Regions from separate parts of the Homo sapiens genome. Here region 1 is linked to region 2. Evidence: promoter capture Hi-C in 16 types of primary human blood cells and fetal thymus (Javierre and others, 2016). All regions are on one chromosome and are shown on one strand. The core of a region is centred on a gene start or on the middle of the fragment in contact, and the rest is flanking DNA. Distances in the headings are between cores, read along the strand shown.

The links. Contacts are between HindIII fragments. The CHiCAGO score rates a contact against its expected background, and 5 or more counts as called.
Region 1: a fragment that was not itself captured here is called in contact with the fragment with the promoter of GCC2 in region 2 in 1 of 17 cell types (naive CD8 T cells); the score reaches 6.2 in naive CD8 T cells.

Annotation. Positions count from the first base shown.
Region 1 is chr2:110,198,295-110,203,437 of GRCh38, forward strand. NPHP1 (nephrocystin 1) reads right to left here. Exons shown (of 20, transcript NM_001128178.3): 2 at 3,127-3,200. Among named protein-coding and RNA genes, the nearest start is that of NPHP1, 4.1 kb to the right of the region's middle. The HindIII fragment of the contact is 2,997 bases long and covers 104-3,100 here.
Region 2 is chr2:108,447,576-108,453,370 of GRCh38, forward strand. GCC2 (GRIP and coiled-coil domain containing 2) reads left to right here and starts at 1,631. Exons shown (of 23, transcript NM_181453.4): 1 at 1,631-1,705; 2 at 2,058-2,114; 3 at 3,453-3,537; 4 at 4,824-4,891. The coding sequence starts at 1,700. RefSeq lists enhancers at 571-1,553, 1,458-1,717, 1,554-2,535, 2,621-3,121, 3,122-3,622. The HindIII fragment of the contact is 5,578 bases long and covers 1-2,609 here.

The DNA.
Region 1 (5,143 bases), core at 352-2,851, 1.8 Mb after region 2:
ATTCTGCTGATGAAAAGACATGCACAGTGGCTGGGGTTTACTTTATAAATTATCTAATATTATTGTGTTATATTGTGTAAATTAAATCATATGCATACATCTAAGCTTTGAGGAGGGAAATCAATGTTAAAGCAATCTAAGGTCTTTATATTAGTCAAGGGAAGATTAATGATACTGATTACGTTTAGATTTAGTTGGGGTTCTTTCTTTTAAAAGTCTATTTACAGAAAACCTGAGCCAGTTAGCTCCCTTTTCCCCTCTCTGCTCTCCCTCCTTACCAGGGGATTCTTCCCTAAAAACAAAAAAACAAACAAAAACAATTAACAAACGACCTGAAGAGAATCATGACTGCTAAAGAAGTTTCCCATACACCAGGGTTAGAGCCGGCCCTATTCTGGCACTGGGGGATCCTCAGACTAAAAGCTACTTCCGAGCCTCTGATAAGCCCTATCAACATACAAAATTTCATTCTTATTCAGGGGATGGTACTAGCAGGAAGGACCCCTCTCTATCTAACAGTAGAAAAGCCCATGAGAGCTCTCTGGAATAATCAACCTAGTCCCTCATTGTTCAATAAAAATAGATAAGCCAGACCTAATAAAGAAAACCGGCAACGTGAAGATAAAATTTAAGAATAACCAAATATAAATTAATTAATTAACTAATTAAAAGGAATCTGAGCCCAGAGAAAGCAAAGACAATTCAGAGAACAGAAGAGAACTTAAGGAGAAAAAAAAAGCCTCCTAGTCATGGAAGTAGTAAGAAGGCAATCAATATGAAAACAGGAACATGATGCTATGAAAAAAGAACAATTCGAGAACAAGAGAAAACACTTGTAAATTAACAACATGACTGATGATGGCCAGGCACGGTGGCTCACGTAATCCCAGCACTTTGGGAGGCCATGATGGGTGGATCACCTGAAGTCGGGAGTTTGAGAGCAGCCTGGCCAACATGGTGAAACTCCGTCTCTACTAAAAATACAAAAAATTAGCCGAGTGTGATGGCGTGAGCCTGTAATCCCAGCTACTCAGAAGGCTAAGGCAGGAGAATCGCTTGAACCCAGGAGGCAGAGGTTGCAGTGAGCCAAGATCATGACAGAGTGAGACTCCATCTTAAAAAAAAAAAAACCAATATGACTGCTGAAATAAAACAATATGGCTGTTGAAATAGGTAATAAAGAAAAGTGTTAAAGTCAAGAGAATTGCTAGCATGGTAGCTCGTGGCGGGGGAGGGGGGCATCCCTTGAGCCTGGGAGGCAGAAGGTGCAGTGAGCCATGATTGTGCCACTTCATTACAGCCTGAACGACAGAGTGAGACCCCCCACATCCCCCCAAAAAAACATCTCCCATACAAACAAAGAAACAGAAACTATTAACAGGAAGTTATGGGATATAGAGGATCAGTCCAGGATATCCAATACCTGACTCAAAGGTGTTTCAGGAAGAAACAGACAAATGGAATTAACGAAATAATCTTTTTGTAAAATAAAATCTCCCAGAGCTCATGAGACATGAGTTTTCAAACTGAAAAGACTCAGAGCACTGAGCAGATAAAAATGATACCTAAATGACATTTTCAGATATGCAAATGTCAAAGTGAGTTTTTAAATGACAGTAACAATCTTCTTTTCATGCACAGAGAAGACTATGGTTACTTGGGCTTAAAAATAATTATTAGGGGCCGGGCGCGGTGGCTCACGCCTATAATCCCAGCACTTTGGGAGGCCAAAGCAGGGGGCATGAGGTCAGGAGATTGAGACCATCCTGGCTAGCACGGTGAAACCCCATCTCTACTAAAAATACAAAAAATTAGCCAGGCATGGTGGCGGGCACCTGTAATCCCAGCTACTCGGGAGGCTGAGGCAGGAGAATCGCTTGAACCTGGGAGGTGGAGCTTGCAGTGAGCCGAGATCATGCCACTGCACTCCAGCCTGGGCGACAGAGAGAGACTCTATCTCAAAAAAAATAAAACATAACAATTATTAGGCTGGGCACAGTGGCTCACACCTATAATCCCAGCACTTTGGGAGGCCAAGGCTGGGGGATCCCTTGAGGTCAGGAGTTCGAAACCAGCCTGGCCAACGTGATGAAACCCATCTCTACTCAAAATACAAAATCCAGCCAGGTGTGGTGGGGCACGACTGTAATCCCAACTACTCAAGAGCCTGAGGCAGAAGAATCGCTTGAACCTGGGAGGTGCAGGTTGCAATGAGCCGAGATTGCGCCACTGCACTCCAGCCTGGGTGACAGAGTGAGATTTAGTCTCAAAAAATAAAATAATAATAATTATGATTTTTAGTTTACTAACATAAAATTTAAAAACGTAGTTTTCCCTTGGCCTTCAAATTCAGTCTATAAATCTTACTCTGTTTTTAAATCTAGTAAAGCAAGAACAATAACCTTTGCTTTTCTTTCATTACTGTTAATTCAGCTTGAACTAAATCCCTTAATCAATCCTACTATTATAAATTAAATTCATTTGACATTTCAAAATTCATTTGTTTTGCCTTTAAGCACTCTGAATGCCTGACTTAAGTAAAACTTCTCCAAACAATTACAATTCACTTAAATTAATAGAATGAATCTCATGTTCTTTGGAATGTAATAAAATCCTTAAATATCTCAAAAACAAAGATTATCTTAATGATGTCCTAAACTTAATACAAATGTTATGAATTAATAGTCTAAATTTGATGTAGTTCATCACGTCTATTTAAACTCTCCCAAGGATTTTTTTTTAAGTAAAAACAAATACAAAACAAAAAACACCCACCTAGAAAACAGTGTTGTCTTCTCATGGGAGTTAAAGTTGACATCCCAATGAAGTACTAATTGCTTATAGACAGAGGTTTCTGACCAGGTCACAGGATCTGGGCTACATAGGCTAAGGATTTAGGGTAATCCTGCCCATGTCACCTATGTTTACATTAAGCAGTTTTTATAGTTGCTGTCACAACAGCAAGTCCGCAACCATCAGGTTTAGGTTGGTTTCTTCTACATTCAACTTACAACACTATGTGATTCTTCCATTTGATTCCAAAGGACCAATCTCTATGCCTTAAATACTATGCATTGAAATGTAAGTGCGGTTCCTGTAAAGCTTATATAATTTAGCATACTTTACCTTTGATAAATATGTTGTCTTTTATTGGGTTCTAGAGCTTCTTTCAGTTGGCTCTCAGAAAGCAAACTATCAACCTATGGAGACCATTTAAAATATCACATTATTAAATACCATATCGCCTTAGGAAAGAAAACTTCTTTTTTTATCCAATATTTTATAATGAACACTTTTAAACATACAACAAAGTTTTAAAAATTTTACAGTGAAAACCCATATACCCGCTACCTAGAAAAAACATTAACATTATACTATACTTATTTGATCTATCCGTCAACCCACCTTATGCCTTTCAAAGTAAGTTGCAGTTATCAATACATTTCTCCCTAAATAATGGACTATGGATGTCACTAACTAAAGTTCAATAGTTGATGTAAAATATGTATATAGTGAAATGCACAAATACGAGGCATACATTTGCTGAGTTTCGACAAATGCATACATCTGTGTAACCAAAATTCTTATCAAGATGTAGAAAACTACCATCACCCTAGTAAGTTCCCTCATGCCCTTGCCAGTAAATCCCCTCCTTATTCCTCCACAGACAAACCTGTTTTGATATTTTTCCAACATAAATTAGTTTTGCCTGTTCTTGAAATTTTATATAAATGGACTCATACAGTAAGCACTCTTGTGTAACCTTTCCACAAAGCATGTTTTTGAGATACTTCCATATTGTTGTGTGTACCATTAGTTCATTCCTTCTCATTACTGAGTGGTATCCATTGTATTGAATGTATCATGACTTTGTTTCTCTTGACTTAGTAGTTTGTTTACTAACACTATATGTAACTTTGTCAATATACTCTCCAAAAAGGCACATACTTCTTTGGTCTGTTTTCTATAGATTACGTAGAGAAGATAAAGTGGATGAAAAAAGAGAAAATTCCATTAGTTTCTTCTCTACTCTTGCAATTTGGCATCCATCTGAGTGTTATTTACAAAATTCACACACCTAGTGATAGAGCCAGTCATCACAGGCCTGACTCAGAGGGGCTGTTGATTACTTGTCCTACAGACACCGAATAGAAAATCTGTTCCATATTCAGCTTCAGGTGTCCTCTGTGAAGACAGGGAAGAATTAGCTAATACTATCAAAACAAACTTTCCAGATAGTCAAGGTATCAAAAGGCTCCAGAGCCAATATTTCTCCAGGGAGAATAATCTTTCTAATAGTTTGTTTTAATAATCATTTTTATAGTTTCCTTCTAAAACTTTTCCTGGTTCTCCTAATGTCCCACTAAATTTAAAATTAACTCATCATGACTAATCATCAGAGAAATGCAAATTAAAACTACAATGAGGTACCATCTCACACTGGTCAAAATGGCTATTATTAAAAAATCAAGAAATGACAGATTCTGGTGAGGCTGACAAGAAAAGAGTACACATATACACTGTTGGTGGGCATGAAAATTAGTTCAGCCACTGTGGAAAGCAGTTTGGAGATTTCCCAAACAACGTAAAACAGAACTATCATTTGACCCAGAAATCCCATTTCCGTGTATATACCCCCAAAAAAGAAATGATTCTACCAAAATGTCACATGCATGTGTATGTTCCCTACAGCACTATTCACAATAGCAAAGACATGGAATCAACATAGATGCCCACCAATGGTGGACTGGATAAAGAAAATGTGGTACATATACACCATGAAAAAATATGCAACCATAAAAAAGAATGAAATCATGTCCTTTGCAGCAACATGGATGGAGCTGGAGGCCATTGTCCTAAGTGAATTAGCATAGGAACAGAAAACCAAATACCATATGTTCTCACTCGTTGAGTACACATGGACATAAAGATGGGAGCAATGGACACTGGTGACTGCTGGAGTGGGGTGGGGGAGGGAAGAGGAATGAAGACTGAAAGACTGCCTATTGGGTACTGTGCTCACTGCTTGTGTGATAGGCTCATCTGTACCCCAAACCTCAGCATAACACAGTGTTCCCATGTGACAGACCTGCACATGTACCCCCTGAATCTAAAATAAAAGTTGAAATTTTAAAATAAGACA
Region 2 (5,795 bases), core at 381-2,880:
GCTGATGACCTGGAGCTTAGGGGTGTGCTGACCCTCATCTCCCTGGGGATTCCCAGGAGACGCTGCCCTACCTGTAGCTGCAACTCATGGACCCTGTTACCCAGCCAAGTGCAATGGAGGGCTGGCGAGGGAAGAAAGATCAAAGGAAGAAAAGAAAGGTTCTTTTTTATTTCAAGTATGAGAAAAAGAGAGTTCTACTGTGAGAACATCAACTCTTCTGTAGCTATTGATGTAGCCAAACTCCTGGAATGTAACTATATCTAACAGTGTTTCTCTGAGAAACTTTTACAGGATTGGAATGTGTGTAGTATCTAGTTAACCTGCTATTTTATTGCAAGTGATTTTTTCAAGTTATTAATTGAAATAGGAGTCTACCGTAAGTTGCTCTTAACTTGGGGAACTACTTTGAATGGCATTAATCTGGACCATTAATAACAATGTATACTTGGGGATTGTGTGTGTGTGTGTGTATACATGTGTGTGCATATATGTGTGTACACACACGTGCACACACACGTGCGCGCACACGTGCACACACACACGTGCACACACACACGTGTACACACACACGTGTACACACACACGTGTGTTACTGTACGTGGAGACTGTACATCTTAGGTCACACACCACCCCTGAACCAATCCTACAAACACCATAGGTGATACACACTGTCAAAGACAAAGAGTAGATGTCCACAATAGCTGTTCTTTCTCGTTTATAACACTTCTTTTACCTAGTAATAATCAGCTACCATTTACTCGATACATACTGTGTGCTGCCTCTTCAACCTTTTGACCATTTAAACTACAGGAAACTAGGTTATCTTCAGGTTACCTTAGTTATGGGAGTGTATGGAAAACATTAATGGGAAGGTGAAAGCGCAGCAAACCACTTCAGCAGTTAACAGAAAGGCTCTCAGAGCACTGGACCGCCAATCAGGACACAGCAGCAGCTCTGGGATTCGACCACAGATTCTCTGGCGTGCCCTTCGGGAAAGGGTGGCCTCGGGCCCCCTACTCTACAGAGTCTCCTCCCACGGCTGCCCAGTTCCCTGGCCGACTATCTTGCCTCCACCACATCACCATCAGTACCGGGCGGCTGCAGGGCAGAGCTGTCCAGGGACCTCCTCACAGCCTCCAGAGTCAAGAAATGCCTCCTCAGGGAAGCCCTCTACCGCATCCCTGACCTGTGAGTCACGGAGCTCCCGGGCACCATGCTGGCCACAAATGCCTAAGGAGCCCCCCGGAACCAGCTGTGGGTCCCGCAGGCACTCGCAGGCTAGCGGACACCTTTGGAGGACTGAGAGACCTGTCCTGCAATCCAATGTTCCTCACTCTCACAAGATTTTACAGACGTGGAAACCGAGGCCCGAGGCCCCAAGGGGTAATCGGCCCGCCTTCCCATGCCAATAACCGGCAGTGGCGGGACCCACACCTACTCCGTGACCTGCAGGCCCAGGGGTCGAGCCCCAGGTAGAACGTCTAGACGGACTCCGCCCTTAGCGCCGTACGGGGAACCTTCTCCCGGACGCAGACACGGAAGCGGAAGTGCTGCCGAGCTGTAGCTATGGAGACGTGGGGGGCGGGCCGCCCGGAGAGCGCGACCTTTGACCTGCAGTAGAGCCTACGTCAGAGGCTGGCGCAAACAGAAGTGCAGCGGTGGCGGCGGCTGGTTGCGGGCCGGCGGCGGGCTGGCGGAGATGGAGGTAACTCAGGTCGGGCCCACTGCCTCCCATCAAGCCTTCCGCGCCGCGATTTGGGATGTGGGAGTGGGCCCGATGGGAGGGCGCGGTAGTCTCCCTCTTGGTGTCCCGAAGCCCGCGCTGCTGTCGCCTCCCCATCTTTCGTAAACTCTATCCCTGGGGGTTACCTGCCCCGTAGAGCCCGTTTGTGTACGAATTGCCACAGCGACCGCCTCCGTCCGCCCTCATTCTCTGTCTCACGAGGCTTTCCACCACTTGATTCCATAGAAGGTTTTTCCCTGTAAGGGTTCTACGCGTTCCGTGTGGAATTAGGAAAAGAGTTCTTCTGACACCTGGGTTTGATTTTGTTTTGCAGGATCTTGTTCAAGATGGGGTGGCTTCACCAGCTACCCCTGGGACCGGGAAATCTAAGGTGAAGAGAATACTTGAATAGCGGGCTTCCTGAAGAGTGGAAGGGTGATGAATTGGAAAACTTTGGCATGGGGAAGGGGGGGGCGCTGATTTTTTTTTTTTTAATAGCCTTGCTCCAAGGGATCTCAATTTTAGTGTGCGCAATCGCCCATTTCCTGTTTCTCCCCCGCCCACCCCGATATAGAAAGACTTTTTGTTTGCTTCCTGCTCCTGGTTAGCACTGCTGGGAGATCCTGCTATTTTTCGAACATAAAGCAGTCTAAGAAGGTTTATATAGTGGTGTAGTGGAAGGAGCAGTGACATAGGGTAGGAATCAAGGGATTCTGATCTGTGGGCTCCAGTTTCTACATTGCCAAAGAGTTTAATTAGTCCAGTTTTATGGCCCTGTACAATGTTTAACATTCAATCATTCTAAATGATAGTGGTTTATTGCTAAGGTTTATTGTGTGCATGCTAAATTTCTGGCGCTTGCCTAACCACTCAGTTCCTTCGTTTAAGCTTCATGATAACCATGAGATAGGTACTGTTGTTACCCTCCTTTTACAGATGAGAAACCTGAGACCACAGGCTTAAGCAATTTTCTCAAGTGGTAAAGCTCAATTTTTTAATTAAAGCCTGAATGTTACCCGGTTCATCTTGCTGCTGTAATTATGCGTAAATTTTCTTGTGACCAAAGACTTGCAGCCTTGAATAGAATGAAATAATTTTACAGCTCCAAGGAATTTTAAGTAGCATTAGCTCCAACCTACTGATTTTACAATTAAATCAAAAGCTAGCAATGTCAACCTGTAACATTAGCTATAAGAGGATATGGCCTGGTTTTTACGTTTCATAGTAGTTGCATAACTAATTTTTAGTAGTTGCATAGCAATTACAGAATTGACGTTGCATTTGCTGATTTTAAAAAATGTGGCCGGGCGCGGTGGGTCACGCCTGTAATCCCAACACTTTGGGAGGCCGAGGCGGGCAGATCACCTGCGGTCAGGAGTTTGAGACCAGCCTGGCCAACATGGTGAAACCCCGTCTCTACTAAAAATACAAAAATTAGCCGGACGTGGTAGCGGGCGCCTATGATCCCAGCTATTTGGGAGGCTGAGACAGGAGAATTGCTTGAACTTGGGAGGCAGAGGTTACAAGTGAGCCAAGATCGTGTCATGCACTCCGGCCTGGGCAATAGAGCGAGACTCTGTCTCAAAAAAAAAATGTGGAACAAAGTATGCGGTTGGCATAAAGATTTATTCTGTAGAATGTTTTTGTTTTCTAGCAGACATTGTTTCTTTTTTGTGGTATACTAGAAACATGAGTTATAACAAGTTGGTAACATGACCACATCTTTCAGCTGGAAACATTGCCCAAAGAAGACCTCATCAAGTTTGCCAAGAAACAGATGATGCTAATACAGAAAGCTAAATCAAGGTGTACAGGTATTGGGTTGAAAATACTCATCTTGATCACAGTCTCTTTAATCGTGGTTTAAAATGGTAGTTTTTAAAATAATGCATTGGCTTGTTTTTGTTTGTTTTCCAGTGATTCCAAGTACACCTTAGTGTAGTAGAATCTGTTATTTAACATTCTAAAAATTTACCTCTGATTTCTAAATTATTCCCACATCTCTAAACCACAGTGACTTTTGAGTTGTTAAAGTCAGGGAGGAGGATTTTTAAAGTTTGTGTAAGTTAAGTGTGTTTTTCCTTCATGTAGACTTTAGATTCTTCTGAGTTCTGAGTAAAGTGTTTTTTCAAGAGAAGTCAGTTGAAATGTTAGAGACAGAAGATAAGCCCAAAGAGATGGAAAGCTTCCTCAATTAAAATAATAAAAGACTTCCATTTACAGATATTGAAGTATGTTTACCTGCTGAAGTTGATTGATTCCCTATTCAGTTTTCTTTTTATTCCAGAAGGAAAAAGATCTTAGCACCTTTTTTTTTTAGTATATGTACATGAGCTCTTGAATTTCCAGTGACTTATAAATATTAACTGCTTAGCCTAAAAGCTAAGACTTATTTTCTATTAGAAAAGATAAAAGTATGTCTTGGGAGTTTGGATCACCTTGCAATGAAGAGAATAATTTATTTGGAAAGAAGTTCTAGGCCTGAGATCTAGGCATTTGCTAATTAAACACTTAGATTAACGTTTCTTTTCTCTCTCTCTCTCTTTTTTTTTTTTTTTTTTCAAGACGGAGTCTCGCTCTTCTTGGCCAGGCTGGAGTGCAGTGGCGCAATCTCGGCTTACTGCAACCTCCCCTTCCCGGGTTCAAGCGATTCTCCTGCCTCAGCCTCCCGAGTAACTGGGACTGCAGGCACCCACCACCATGCCTGGCTAATTTTTGTATTTTTAGTAGAGACGAGGTTTCACCATGTTGGCCAGGCTGTTCTCGATAACGTTTATTCTTAATATGTGATTGTTGCTTTAAGGTTATACAGTAAGATGTACTTACAGGTGAAATAATATGATGTCTGGGGTATGCTTGAAAATTATCAGATGGATAAGAAAAGCAGTGAAGGAGGAAGTGAGTACAGGTTGGGAGGAAACAAAATTGGCCATGTAATGCTGAAGTATAGTGATGAGTGCAGAGATTAATCATACTATTCTGCTTAAATATATTCTAATTTGCAGATTTATGGGGGGTTTTGTGAGAATGTACTTATCAGTTTCCCAGTAATTATGTTCTTTATTTCTGAACCGGAGTCCTTTATTTTTTAATTGTTTAGAATTGGAGAAAGAAATTGAAGAACTCAGATCAAAACCTGTTACTGAAGGAACTGGTGATATTATTAAGGTAATTATTACGTTGGGAAATGTCTAAAGAGAAATAAAATTTCCCTGAGGATTGTCAGTCTGCTAGAGGCTATCTGGCTTTCTGTTTCTGTTCTACTTCCTCTCTGCCTTGGTTGTTTTTACCTATCTGATTCACTGTAAAAAGAGGGGGTTAATGACCTCTGGGTCTCTTTCTGTTCTGAAATTATTATTCTACTCTCTTCCCACGTATTTTCTTTTTTCTTTCTTTTTTTTTTTTTTTTTTTTTGAGATGGAGTCTCACTCTGTCACCAGGCTGAAGTGCAGTGGTGTGATCTTGGCTCACTGTAACCTCTGCCTCCCGAGTTCAAGCAGTTCTCCTGCCTCAGCCTTCCAAATAGCTGGGACTACAGGCGCCCGCCACCACACCCAGTTAATTTTTGTATTTTAAGTAGAGACGGGATTTCACCATGTTGGCCAAGATGGTCTTGCTCTCTTGACCTCACGATCCGCCCGCCTCAGCCTCCCAAAGTGCTGGGATTACAGGCGTGAGCCACCACGCCCAGCCCATATTTTCTAATTATGGTTGTTACTTCATTCTCTGCTCTTCCCCAGCCCCCTGAAAACCTGGCCATGCTCAGGACTTAAGTGATTTTAGGTGTACAGTATATAATCTATAGATAGATCCATATCCCTGGACATGTCTACTGACCCAGATCTCACAGTTGTGTTTCCCTCTCACACATTTCACTTATCTCATCAAACTCAACCAAATTGCTTCCCTTGGTTAGACCAGTGGCACCACAGTTTTTTATACCTTTTGACTTTAGAGACACTTTAACTTCTCTGTTTCCTTTATTCTCTATATGTGTCAGTCACCAGAGACCTATTATAGCTTTAAGATATTGTTCCAGTTTATCTTTTTTCTCTCTATTTCTATGGCTTTA